Linked DNA regions of Homo sapiens: regions 2, 3 and 4 are each linked to region 1. The links are contacts of gene promoters, found by promoter capture Hi-C in human tissues and cell types (Jung and others, 2019). All regions are on one chromosome and are shown on one strand. Each heading gives the region's core, a stretch centred on a gene start or on the middle of the fragment in contact. The rest is flanking DNA. Distances are from core to core; before and after follow the strand shown. Region 1 holds the start of LYZL1 (lysozyme like 1). Region 2 has its middle 60 kb from the start of SVIL-AS1. Region 3 has its middle 44 kb from the start of LYZL1. Region 4 has its middle 40 kb from the start of LYZL1.

Region 1 (2,862 bases), core at 164-2,663:
TTGTCAGTATATATATCCTGCACATATTTTGTTAGGTTTAAATTTAAGTACTTCATTTGCATTTGTGTACTATTGTAAATGGATTTTTTTTTATTTCAAACTCTTATTTTCTATTCCTAGTATATAAGATTGTAAATGGCTTTTGTATATTTACGTCATATCTGAAAACTTGCTAAGCAAGCATTTTTGAAAAAGAAAAAGACAATCCGTCTCTATTTTCTCACTGGTAAGATCCCTATTTCAAAGCATTTTGAAAAAGATGTTTGAGGGAAAAACCTATACATTTTCTCATATTATAGACTGTTCACAAGAAGTCCACTAATGGCTTCTAAAGATAAAAAAGACCCTCAAGCAGCTTGAAATAACGAAAGTTGAAATTGAAACTCTGCTGAAAAATTATGTTTCATCTCTAATATTGAGAAATATTGAAACATTTGATAACACAGTGTGCTATCTTCCTGATACAAGCCCATGTGAAAGGCAATTTGGCAAATATCTAGCAAAATTACAAAATTATACCCTTTGATCCAGCAAGATATTCTTGTAAAGTTACAAATGACATATGTACAAAATTACTGGTTGTAATATGTTTACAATAGAAGAATAAAATAAGTGTGCATCAATATGAAATTGGCTAAGTATGCTATGTTGTATCTGTATAATGCAATACTATATGAACTTCAAAATAGATTTCAACAAAACCTTTGCATTATTGGCAGATGGAATTTAAGAAAATATAACGATTAGTTAGGTGCAGCCAACAATAAACTTCTACTTAGATCTACATATTCTAATGAGAATTCATTTCAAATGTGTCACTAAATCTGAACATTGAAATAAATAGACCTTGAAAACAGCCCTTTAGTTATTGATTCACAAAGTGTTAAGCCAAATTTTTCAAAAATAATAAAATCATGTTATTACAAAAATATTTTATTAATAATAATTTGACTATAGCAAATGTGCTGTTAATAAATTTTTAATGTTAATTTCACCTCTATGTCATTAATTTTCAAATTTTAGTTTTATGTATGTTGATAATTTATGTAGCATATTAGTACTGAGGTACAGAAGTATGATTTATAACTCAATGTACATCTAAAGAGGATACATGCTTAACTTTCTTTATTAATGGAATTTGTGATAAAGTTTGCAGACGCCTCAGAGAAGAGCTCTCACTTGGACAGGAGGCCCTGGCCAAGTTGTGTAATGAGGAGGGTTGTTGAGGGGAAAAGACAAAAAACAAGAGGTATTAAGCCCCAGAAGACAGTTATCACCTGCCTCAGAACACAAGCATGCAGGATGATACAGCTTTTAGTGCCAAGAAGTAGAATTCTAGCATCTCTAGGTGGTGAGAAACAAAGGATTAAGAATTTTTCTTTCTCTAACACTCTAAAGAAATGTTCTTGAGCTAGGAAAGGATTACTCGCGCCTCGTTAGAATCAGACATGGCTTCAGGGGATGCAGGACGCTCCCCTGAGCTGCCTGTCACCGACTAAGTGGAGCAGTGTTTCTTCCGCAGACTCAACTGAGAAGTCAGCCTCTGGGGCAGGCACCAGGAATCTGCCTTTTCAGTAAGACCTAAATTACTCTTATGAGAACCAGCAATGGCAGGTTCTTGAAGGATGTAGAACATGATGCTTGGGGTTATCATTGCTGCGGGTTTTCTTTGGACTTGTTTGAGATCAGTAAAATTCTAAGGCAGGGGATGGAAACCAACTCTATTTGTAAGCTCTGTATCTTTTTTTCTTTTTTCTTTTCTTTTTTTTTTTTTTTTTTAGACAGGGTCTCTCACTCTGCTGCCCAGGCTGGAGTGCAGTGTCACAATCATGGCTCACTATGGCCTCAAACTCCCAGCCTCAAGTGATCCTCCCACCTCAGCCTCCCCAGTAGCTGGGACCACAGGCACACACCACCATGCCTGGCTAATTTTTGTATATTTTGTAGAGGCAGGGTCTACCTTTGCTGCCCAGGCTAGTCTCAAACTCCTGGCTTCAAGCAATCTGCTCACCTCAGCCTCCCAAAGTGCTTGGATTACAGGTATCACCCACCATGCCTGGCCTTAGCTCTGCATCTTAAACCTCGTTTGTCTGTCCCTCACAGCTTAACACAGTGCTGTACACAGCGGACTGGCATGCTCTCTCTGAAAAGGGCCAGATAATAATATGTTAGGCTTTGTGGTCTATACGGCCTCAAACACAATTACTGAACTCTGCCACTGTAGTTGGAAATCAGCCACCAATGATATATTACCAAATGGGTGTAGCTATGTTTCAATAAAACTTTACATACAAAAGCGGGCCTGGTTTGCCCACGCTTGCTATTCACGTTTGTAATGTACATGCCCCTCATGCAATGCAGTTCCTTACCTTATTGCTTAGTCACCTTAAAGCCCTGCTTGTTACTTGGTGCGGTGGCCTTGCTGATGACTACTTATCCCTGTTTTGGGCCTAGCCTTTCAATGCAGGAATCCAGCCCCAGGGAGAGAAACTAATGACTGGAGAAGTTTCTAGGCAAGTGCAGAAAATGACACGGGATGAACATATGTAAGAACATCAAGTTCAGGATCCCGAGTAGTTGTCAGAAATTTCACTTCACCCCATCCCAGCAAGGCTGTTGTATTTGGGGAAGACATTATTTCAAGAGGGGAAGAGATTGTGGAAAATCAGTAGGCAGCAGGAGACAGCTCTCTTGATCCTACTCCCATTTCAGATGATTCCGCAGGGGTCTCTTTATTGCCCCTCTGCTCCCCCAGGTGCTTTCCTCCTTTCATGAGGCTTTGTCCTCCATCCCTCTTGCTCCCCAGTCAGGTGCCAGACTTTTAGGAGGCCCCCCGGAGCACTGGTGGTGAAGCTTAGCAAA
Region 2 (2,862 bases), core at 238-2,737, 61 kb after region 1:
GATCATCTTATCCTAGGCTCTTCTCAGGTGAGATGAGCTCCTAGGGGTTCTCTAGCAGAAAATTTTCCGTGAGAGCGTCAATATCATCCTTCAATTCCTTCTTTGTTCCGTGGCTCTTCCTCATAGCAATGCTTCCTTCTTATCTACTCATCAGGCTAGCCTAGTTTTCATTCATTCATTCATTCTTCACTAGCTGTGATAGTTACTGAGTGACTATGACAGACAAGGTCCCTGCTCTTATAGAATTTACATTCTAGCAGAGCAGAGCAATCTAGCAATAAAACAAAAATTAATTATCAGGAGGCTCTTTGGGGTTTACCACAGTGGGAAGAGAAAGTGATTTAACTGACCCCAGAAAAAAAATATAACCCCTTAAGCATAAATGGTATAAGATGTAGAGGAACATGCAGGGTCCTGCTTTTACTAGGAAGCCAAGTGCCGGTCGTGCGGTGCCTTGCGAGGTCGTTCTTGGTCTGTAGAGTGGCTCTGTGCTGATGGGTCTACTTGTGCTCCATTCTCAGGCCCACTAAGTGACTTCTTTCCAGACAAGGACTTGTTTATATCTGAGGAATCTACTTCCATAATACGAAAGCTGGGGAGCTCACCACAGGAAGTTTCAGGATGCAAACCCAGGAAGAGAAGGGTGGACGCTCAGACCCCATCTGTTTGCACCAAGACATCTTTGCCAGCAGCCTTCACTTTCCTCGCCTTGGACCTTGGCCACATTATTGATTTCACAAGGTCTCAGGCTCCACCGACAGCCATTCAGAAGAAGGCCAGAGTGCATGTGGAATCACCGCTTTGCCACATGATGATCTGCTTAAGACAAAGTCTACACTGCAGTAGAGCCAGGCAGGAGTTTAAGACCAGCCTGGCCAACATGGTGAAACCCCATCTCTACTAAAAGTATAAAAATTAATTGGGTGTGGTGGTGGGCACCTGTAATCCCAGCTATTCAGGAGGCTGAGGCAGGAGAATCGCTTGAACCCAGGAGGTGGAGCTTGCAGTGAGCCAAGATCATGCCACTGCATTCCAGCCTGGGCAACAGAGTGAGACTCTGTCTCAGAAAAAAAATACACAAAATATATGAACAAGTTAATTTTTAATTGCTTTTATAAAAATGAGGTCTCACTATGTTGCCCAGGCTGTTCTCAAACTCCTGGCCTCAAGCAATCCTCCCTGCCCTGGCCTCCCAAAGTGCTGGAATAACAGGCATGAGCCACCATGCCTAGCCAAGTCAATTTACTAAAAGTCAGCTCAGTATATACCCAAAGGAATATAAATCAATCCTTCTAGTATAAAGATACATGCACACATATAGCACTATTTACAATAGCAAAGTCATGGAATCAACCTAAATGCCTATCAGTGATAGACTGGATAAAGAAAATGTGGTACATATACATCATGGAATACTATGCAGCCAAAAAAAGGAATGAGATCATGTTGCAGGGACATGGATGGAGTCGGAAGCCATTATTCTCAGCAAACTAATGCAGGAACAGAAAACCAAACACTGCATGATCTCACTTATAAGTAGGAGCTGATTGATGAGAACACATGGACCTGTGGTGGGGAAAAACACACACTGGGCATCTGTAGGGGCAGGAAGGGAGAGCATCAGGAAGAATAACCAATTGATGCAGGGCTTAATACCTGGATGATGGGATGATCTGTGTAGTAAACCACCATGGCACACATTTACCTGCACACGTACCCCTGAACTTAAAATAAAAATTGGAAGACAAAAAAAGGAACTGATGAATAAGATCAAATAAAATCATTGTTGATTGAAGTTAAAAAAAAAGTCAGCCCAGTAGAAAATGGACAAAATGCTTGAAATGCCACTTCATAAATGAGAGTAATATTCAAATGGCTAGTAAACATATTAAAAATGCTCAATTTTGTTTGTAATCAAGGAAATGCACATTGAAATCATAGAGATGCAATTCCACACTACCAAAATGGCTAAAATTTAAATTAAAATTGCCAAATATTGGCAAGAATATGTAACAACTTGAACACTCCCACACTATTCATTAGAGTGCTAATTGGTACAAACCCTTAGGAAAATGGTTTGGAAATTATTACTAAAGCTAACATATACATACCCTTCGACTCAGCAACTCCACTCTGGGTTTTCATGCCCAACAGAAATGTGTTCACTAATAAACACTTACCTGAATTTTTTTAGGAGTGCTGTTCATTGGAGCTAAAAACTGAAAATTACCCAGGTGCACGGCAATGGTAGCATGAATGAATACATTACGCGATATTCACACAATGGAATACAGGTTGAGTATCCCTTATCCAAGTGCTTGGGACCAGAAATGTTTCAGATTTTTAATTTTTCAGGTCTTGGAATAGTTGCATTAAACTCACTGGTGGAACATGCCAAATCCAAAAATCTGAAATCTCAATCTCAATCTAAATGCTCCAATGAGCATTTCCTTTCAGCATCATGTGGGTGCTCAACAAGTTTCAGATTTTGCAGCATTTTGGACTTCAGATTTTCAGATTTGGGATGTTCAACCTATACTGTACAACAGTGAGAAAGAATCACGTACTCACAAAAATATGGATGAATATGACAGCCATACTATGGAGGAAAAGAAACCAGACATTAAAAGTCTGGTATACACTGCATGATTCCATTTCTATAAAGTACACAAACAGACAGGATAATGATTACCCCACTTAGGATTAGTGCCTGGGAGATAACACAAAAGAGAACTGGTAACATTGTATTTCTTGCTCTGGGTTCTGGTTTTATGGATGTGTTCAGTTTGTGAAAATTCATTGAGACTACGATGTGTGCTCATTTCCGTATGTATATTACATTTCAATAAAAAGTACCACAAA
Region 3 (2,862 bases), core at 209-2,708, 44 kb before region 1:
TGCTTCATTGGGGTGCAAATTTAACAAAGCTGGGTCTATTTCGATTTTTAAAGTTATTCTATATCAACTAAAAAAAAATAGTACAGTGACCTAGAACAGAGACAAAAATAAGTGCTCATCTCTGAGGCCAGGCTGGTGGACACATTGGGGCTGCCTGGAGGCTGGAGGGAGAAAAAGTCTGAGAACTCCCCAGTGTAACGAAGAAGACTGGTGGTGGAAATGCTGCCTGCCTGGGCTGGGAGGGAGGAAGGAGTTTCCCTCTACCGCCCTAGTGTTCCTATCTGCCTTGCGTGCTAGAAACCCAACTAGGCTTTACTATACCTGTTTGTATCACAGAATTTCTGTCCAAAAAGATTTGAATCTATGATCAACATGAACCAATTCAGAGGTCAGAAAAGTAGTATTTTGTTCACCTCTATTAAAGTTTCCCTATTTCCAATCAAGACTCATTTAAAAATCCTACGTTTAACAGATTTTGAAATATGGCAGAACTTGAAGCCTAGCCCTTTGCAGGACTAATTCATACCAGTAAAGAAAATAATGTTAGTAAGTAGGTGCTTGTCATTGAAGCTGTTATTCACATTTTTCCCCCTGGGGGGGAAAAAAAAGAGTCAGGCTTTCAGCTACCTCTATTAAATTAGCCATCATCATAAGCATTATTTAGTGATTTTCCTCCATGGGTGCAAGGCACTCCACTAGGCAAAGTCGCTTTCTAGTAAAACTCTCATAATGTCCTCTGAGATAAGTATTGTACCTATTTTGTTTGTAATCAGTGAACTTCAGAACCTCATAGAAGCTAGATGATGTGCCTGAGATACCATTGGTAAATGGGTGAGCACTTTATTTCTACGTCTTGTCTATTGGATATGGAGGCAGATTTCAGGACTTGAAAGGAAGGAAAGGGGATTTCTGCAGGGTCTGCTTAACTAAACGGATTCATAAGCGAGATGTTGGTGGTGCTATTTCGTGATGAACCAGGTTGGAATCTCCTCAGAATTTCCTGAGAACAGCAATGGTAGAGATTTCCCAGCACACAAGATGGCGGGCGATGGAGACATGGAGAGCGTCAGCACACACTGGACAGGAGCAGAGAGAGGAGAGGAAGGGATGAGGATGACACACTGTGATCCAGGCATGTGTTTTTCTCAGCTCTCGTTTATAAGACTGTGTGGAACCCCTCATTAATAAATATTAAGATGGTACATGTCCATTTAATAAATGTTAATAACTCATCAGGTTTGCATTTTAAACCTCATGCCTCTAACAAATTGAACTAAAATAATTTAATTTAGTGGAGAGAACAGTAGATGGAGGGAAATGTGTTCTGAAGCCTCATTTTGGGTTTTCTTTCCCCAAAAGGGCATCCGGCCAGAATGAACTTCAAATATGAAGAAATTCCACAAATAATGCATTTTCTGTTCTTACCTCCATGCCCTTATTGAAAACACCATTCACTGTTCTTCCAGTAAGTTCCTTCGTTCAACAATCGGGCCACTGTCCCAGAGACTTGGCAAGGGCCTTTGACATCACCAACAGCAAGGGAAATGTTTTAACAGCTCCGTTAATACGGCAACAGAGGTTTATTGTTATCAAACAGACCCGTTAAGCCAAGCCACTGCGACTCCCACGGGCCCACCTGCTCTGCTTGGAAGACCCAAAGACTGACAGGGCCAAGTCTCTGCAAGGCTAAGGATTAGTTTCGTCCTTACGCGGGAGAGCAGGGACCACAGAGTGCAGAGATTTAGAGGCGAGAACTAGATTTGAGTCCAGAATCTGTGGATCTGTCACCTGTGGCAAATTGCTTCATATTTTTAAAGCTTCATGCACTTAGCACTTTGCCTGTTACACAGTAAACACGTAATAAATAGTAGTAGTTTTTACAAAAAATTTTAGAATTTGAGTTATTTTATGTATTTATTTTATGTGTTTACCATTATATATGCATCTTTATATATTTATAAATAAATTTACTTATGTATTTATAAATGTATAAAATATAGTTACACTTAAAATATTGTATATTGAAATAGTAAATATATTTTATATACTTATAAATAAATTATTTTATATATGCATACCTTTAAAATAAATCTTAAAAGTAGAGTTTGATAAATTTCTACACATATGAAGGTCACCCAGATCAAAATATAAAACATTCCAGCCAGACATGGTGCCTCACATTTGTGATTCCAGCACTTTGAGAGGCTAAGGTGGGAGGATCAGTTAAGGCCAGGAGTTCAAGACAAGCCTGGGCAACACAGCAAGATCCCATCTCTACAAAAAATTTAAAAAGTTAGTCAAGTGTGGTGATATGTGTCTCTAGTCCCAGTTGCTCAGGAAGCTGAAATGGAAGGGTTACTTGAGTCCAAGAATTTGAGGCTGCAGTGAGCTATGATTACACCATGGCACTACAGTTTGGTAACATAGCAAGAACCTGTCTCTAAATATATAATAATAAATATAAGTATATATTATATAAATAACCATATATAAATATATAAACATATACATCATGAACAATTAAATATAAATATATTTATATTTACTTACATTTATAAATATATTACTATAATATTTATAATATAAATATCTAAAATAATATAATATATAGATATATTTATTATATATATGTGTGTATAAATTTAGAGATGGGGTCTTGCTATGTTGCCCAGGCTGGAGCGTGGTATATATTATATATGTATAACATTTCCAGCACCCTAGGGCTCTATCATGCTGCTTCCTCATTATACCTGCCCCTCTTCCGAGAAAACAGTTTTCCTGATGTCTATCACCGTACATACATTTTGACTGTATATGTTCTCTGTCGTGTCTGGTTTCTTTCACTCAGTATTATGTCACAGT
Region 4 (2,862 bases), core at 175-2,674, 40 kb after region 1:
ATAAAGCCAAATATTTGCAGGTCCCAGGCGCTCTGAAGTCTGTAGTTTCCCACCCTTACAGACAGCACCCCATGGTGTGTCAACTTTCTCATTTCAAAGTCCAAAGCATCCTAAAGCAAACATGAACCTCACAGTGAAATGGCCTCACTCTGATTTACACATCATTATTTCTCCAACTGTTGATTTAGTCCAGTCTTCCCTGATGGCATCTTCTAAAGGAAAGCTTCTTCATATTCTTCCCCAGGAGACAGTCAAGGCTGTCCACGGACAAGCGGGTTGAGACAGCATATTCCGTGCTGAATCTGAGGGCATAAGAAATTTGCTTGTGCTTTCTCCTATTTCAGTTCTGTAACCTCCATTCCAATGCAGTCATGTGAATCGTTTGCTTCTTTGGGTTAGTAATAGATGTTGCCGTTTATTGGCCACGTATATACTCAGCCCTCCCCTTATGGAGAGGCAACTGGAGAAACTGAGGTCTTTATCCAATGACCTGCTCCATGCCAGCATTTCTGTAATTGGGGGTTGGGACATCTGAGCTACAGGAACTTCTGAGAGTCCTAAGGCGGTGAGATATTGCTATAGTGACCACCAACATCAATGTTTGAAACATTTATAAAATAATAATAGTAGCTACATATAACTAAGAACTCACTATACCAGGAATCTTTCATACATTACCTTTATTTCTCAGACAACTCACCCTACATAGGAGGAGTCTAAGGCTGTAGACATTCAGGAAGCTTGGAAAGACCTTGCAGGTGGTAAAGGGCAGAACCAGAACTTGCATCCATGTATCCTTTTGACTTTGAAGCCTGTTTTTCCCTGGACCTCAGGGATGAGATAAGATGCCCAGCATCTATCCACTTCTTCACGCCTCCTCACACTCTTCCTTTTCTTATTCTTCAGCTCAAAGATCTGAGGTAGTATCAAGAGAGGACCATCCCTGGTGGGGGTCAGTGGCTCATATCTATAATCACAACACTTTGGGAGGTTGAAGCAGGAGGATTGCTTGAAGCCAAGAGTTCAAGACCAGACTGGGTAACATAGCAAGATCTCCTTCTCTATTTAAAAAAAATATATTTTAAAAAAGACAGCTGGGAACAGTGGCTCACGCCTGTGATCACAGCACTTTGGGAGGCCGAAGCAGGCAGATCACCTGAGGTCAGGAGTTCAAGACCAGCCTGATCAACATGGTGAAACCCCGTCTCTACAAAAATACAAAAAATAGCCAGGCATGATGGCAGATGCCTTTAATCCTACTTACTCAGGAGCCTGAGGCAGGAGAATCACTTAAACCTAGGAGGCAGAGGTTGCAGTGAGCCAAGATCGCGCCATTGTCCTCCAGCCTGGGTGACAGAGTGAGACTTCTTTTCAAAAAAAAAAAAAAAAAAGAGGGAACCATCCCTGAAAGTCTTCAAACAGTTGGTTAGCAGCTGTGAAACTTATGTGACTCCACCTTAAAATGAGGTGGTTTGTTTGATGTCTACCATTCGTACTGAAGGATAATTTGGAATATGGATAATCATAATATTTCTTATGGAAGCAGTCATGACCTAAAACTCTGGCAACTGCCATTGCCCTGGCGTGCTTTCCAAATGAGAACAGAGAAGATGCCTGGGATGACTTCCCACATTCCTGAGTGAGCTGCATGCTCGTGGTCTACTGCTTACCCCAGGTCATCTCTGCAGCAGCTCAGCAGCACCTTCCATCTACTGCCCCAAACATCACCCACATTTTGGTCTCCCCCACCTCCTCCCATTTTTGCAAAGCCAATTGGCTCTCATTATTCTGAACCAATCTTGCCTAGCTGTGTAACCACCACTTGAGAGAAAGTTAATTTTATACTCAGTGCATTTACTTCTATTTGAAATAGATATTAAGGGCGCTCTGCTTTCTAAATTCTCCCCAAGTGAAACAGAGCTCTCTATGAGGCCCCTGAGAACAACAGAGCATTAACACAATTCCTGCCCTGAAGACGTTGTGTCTCCTCTTAGGTCAAGAGCCAATAAGCACATAATTGGCCCTTAATTGTATGAACTGTATTCCCGGTGCTTTTCACAGCACATGGCATTGCGTAAGGGTCAACATGGCTTGCTGATTTATGTGTTGATCTCTCTCTCTCTCTGTGTGTGTGTGTGTGTGCGTGTGTGTGTGTGTGTGTGTGTGTGAAGAGAGAGAAGGGGATTTGGCAGTGATGGGAGGCCACAGCAAGGGGGGCACCAAGAATTAGATAACTCCTATAATCAGTGTTGTTTACTATTCATTAGCAAGAGAAAATACAATTGCAAGAAAATCCATTTATGATTATAGAGGAGAATGGAACTATGCATTCCAGATTTTTTTCCAACAAAACATTCAGACACAACTTACATTCACACTTTTCCCCTAGAAGTAATAATTAGCAAACAGCTGTCAGAAGGTTTGTTGACAACCTTTCTAATGTCAATGTCTTTCAAAAGACCCACTTCTTTGCAATGCCTCCACCCACCGGCTGGCTGAGGTCAAAGGAACATGGAGTGCGCGTGTGTATCTATGCCTGTCTGTATTTTCCACCATATTCTTCTTTCTCTTTCTCCCTCTTCCTTCCCCTCTTATTATTGTAGCATCCAGGTTTTGTCAATTATCAAACACTCAAACACTACATACACACATCCTTACATAAAATAATTCAATGAAGTGAAAAGAAAGTCCCATATCTTCCTCTCTGTTAGCACCATGGGTTAATGGAATGAACACTGAACTTCGGAATCAGAGACTTGGTTTCAAGTTCTAGATTCATTCACTTGCTAACTGTGTGATGGAAATTAGTTTAATCTCTGCAGTTGACTCCTCTGTAAAGTAAGATACTTAACTCATGGCATT

What was found. The method cuts DNA at HindIII sites, captures the fragments that hold promoters and counts their contacts. A contact is called where the count stands out against the background at its distance.
Region 2: a contact is called between a fragment that was not itself captured here and the fragment with the promoter of LYZL1 in region 1, in 3 of the 25 tissues and cell types used here (mesenchymal stem cells, ovary and thymus).
Region 3: a fragment that was not itself captured here is called in contact with the fragment with the promoter of LYZL1 in region 1 in 1 of the 25 tissues and cell types used here (thymus).
Region 4: a fragment that was not itself captured here is called in contact with the fragment with the promoter of LYZL1 in region 1 in 4 of the 25 tissues and cell types used here (mesenchymal stem cells, mesendoderm cells, spleen and 1 more).

Annotation. Positions count from the first base shown.
Region 1 is chr10:29,287,657-29,290,518 of GRCh38, forward strand. LYZL1 (lysozyme like 1) reads left to right here and starts at 1,414. Exons shown (of 5, transcript NM_032517.6): 1 at 1,414-1,574. The HindIII fragment of the contact is 13,518 bases long and covers 1-2,862 here.
Region 2 is chr10:29,348,273-29,351,134 of GRCh38, forward strand. No RefSeq gene overlaps it. Among named protein-coding and RNA genes, the nearest start is that of SVIL-AS1, 60 kb to the right of the region's middle. The HindIII fragment of the contact is 9,519 bases long and covers 1-2,862 here.
Region 3 is chr10:29,244,110-29,246,971 of GRCh38, forward strand. No RefSeq gene overlaps it. Among named protein-coding and RNA genes, the nearest start is that of LYZL1, 44 kb to the right of the region's middle. The HindIII fragment of the contact is 3,022 bases long and covers 1-2,862 here.
Region 4 is chr10:29,327,548-29,330,409 of GRCh38, forward strand. No RefSeq gene overlaps it. Among named protein-coding and RNA genes, the nearest start is that of LYZL1, 40 kb to the left of the region's middle. The HindIII fragment of the contact is 5,763 bases long and covers 1-2,862 here.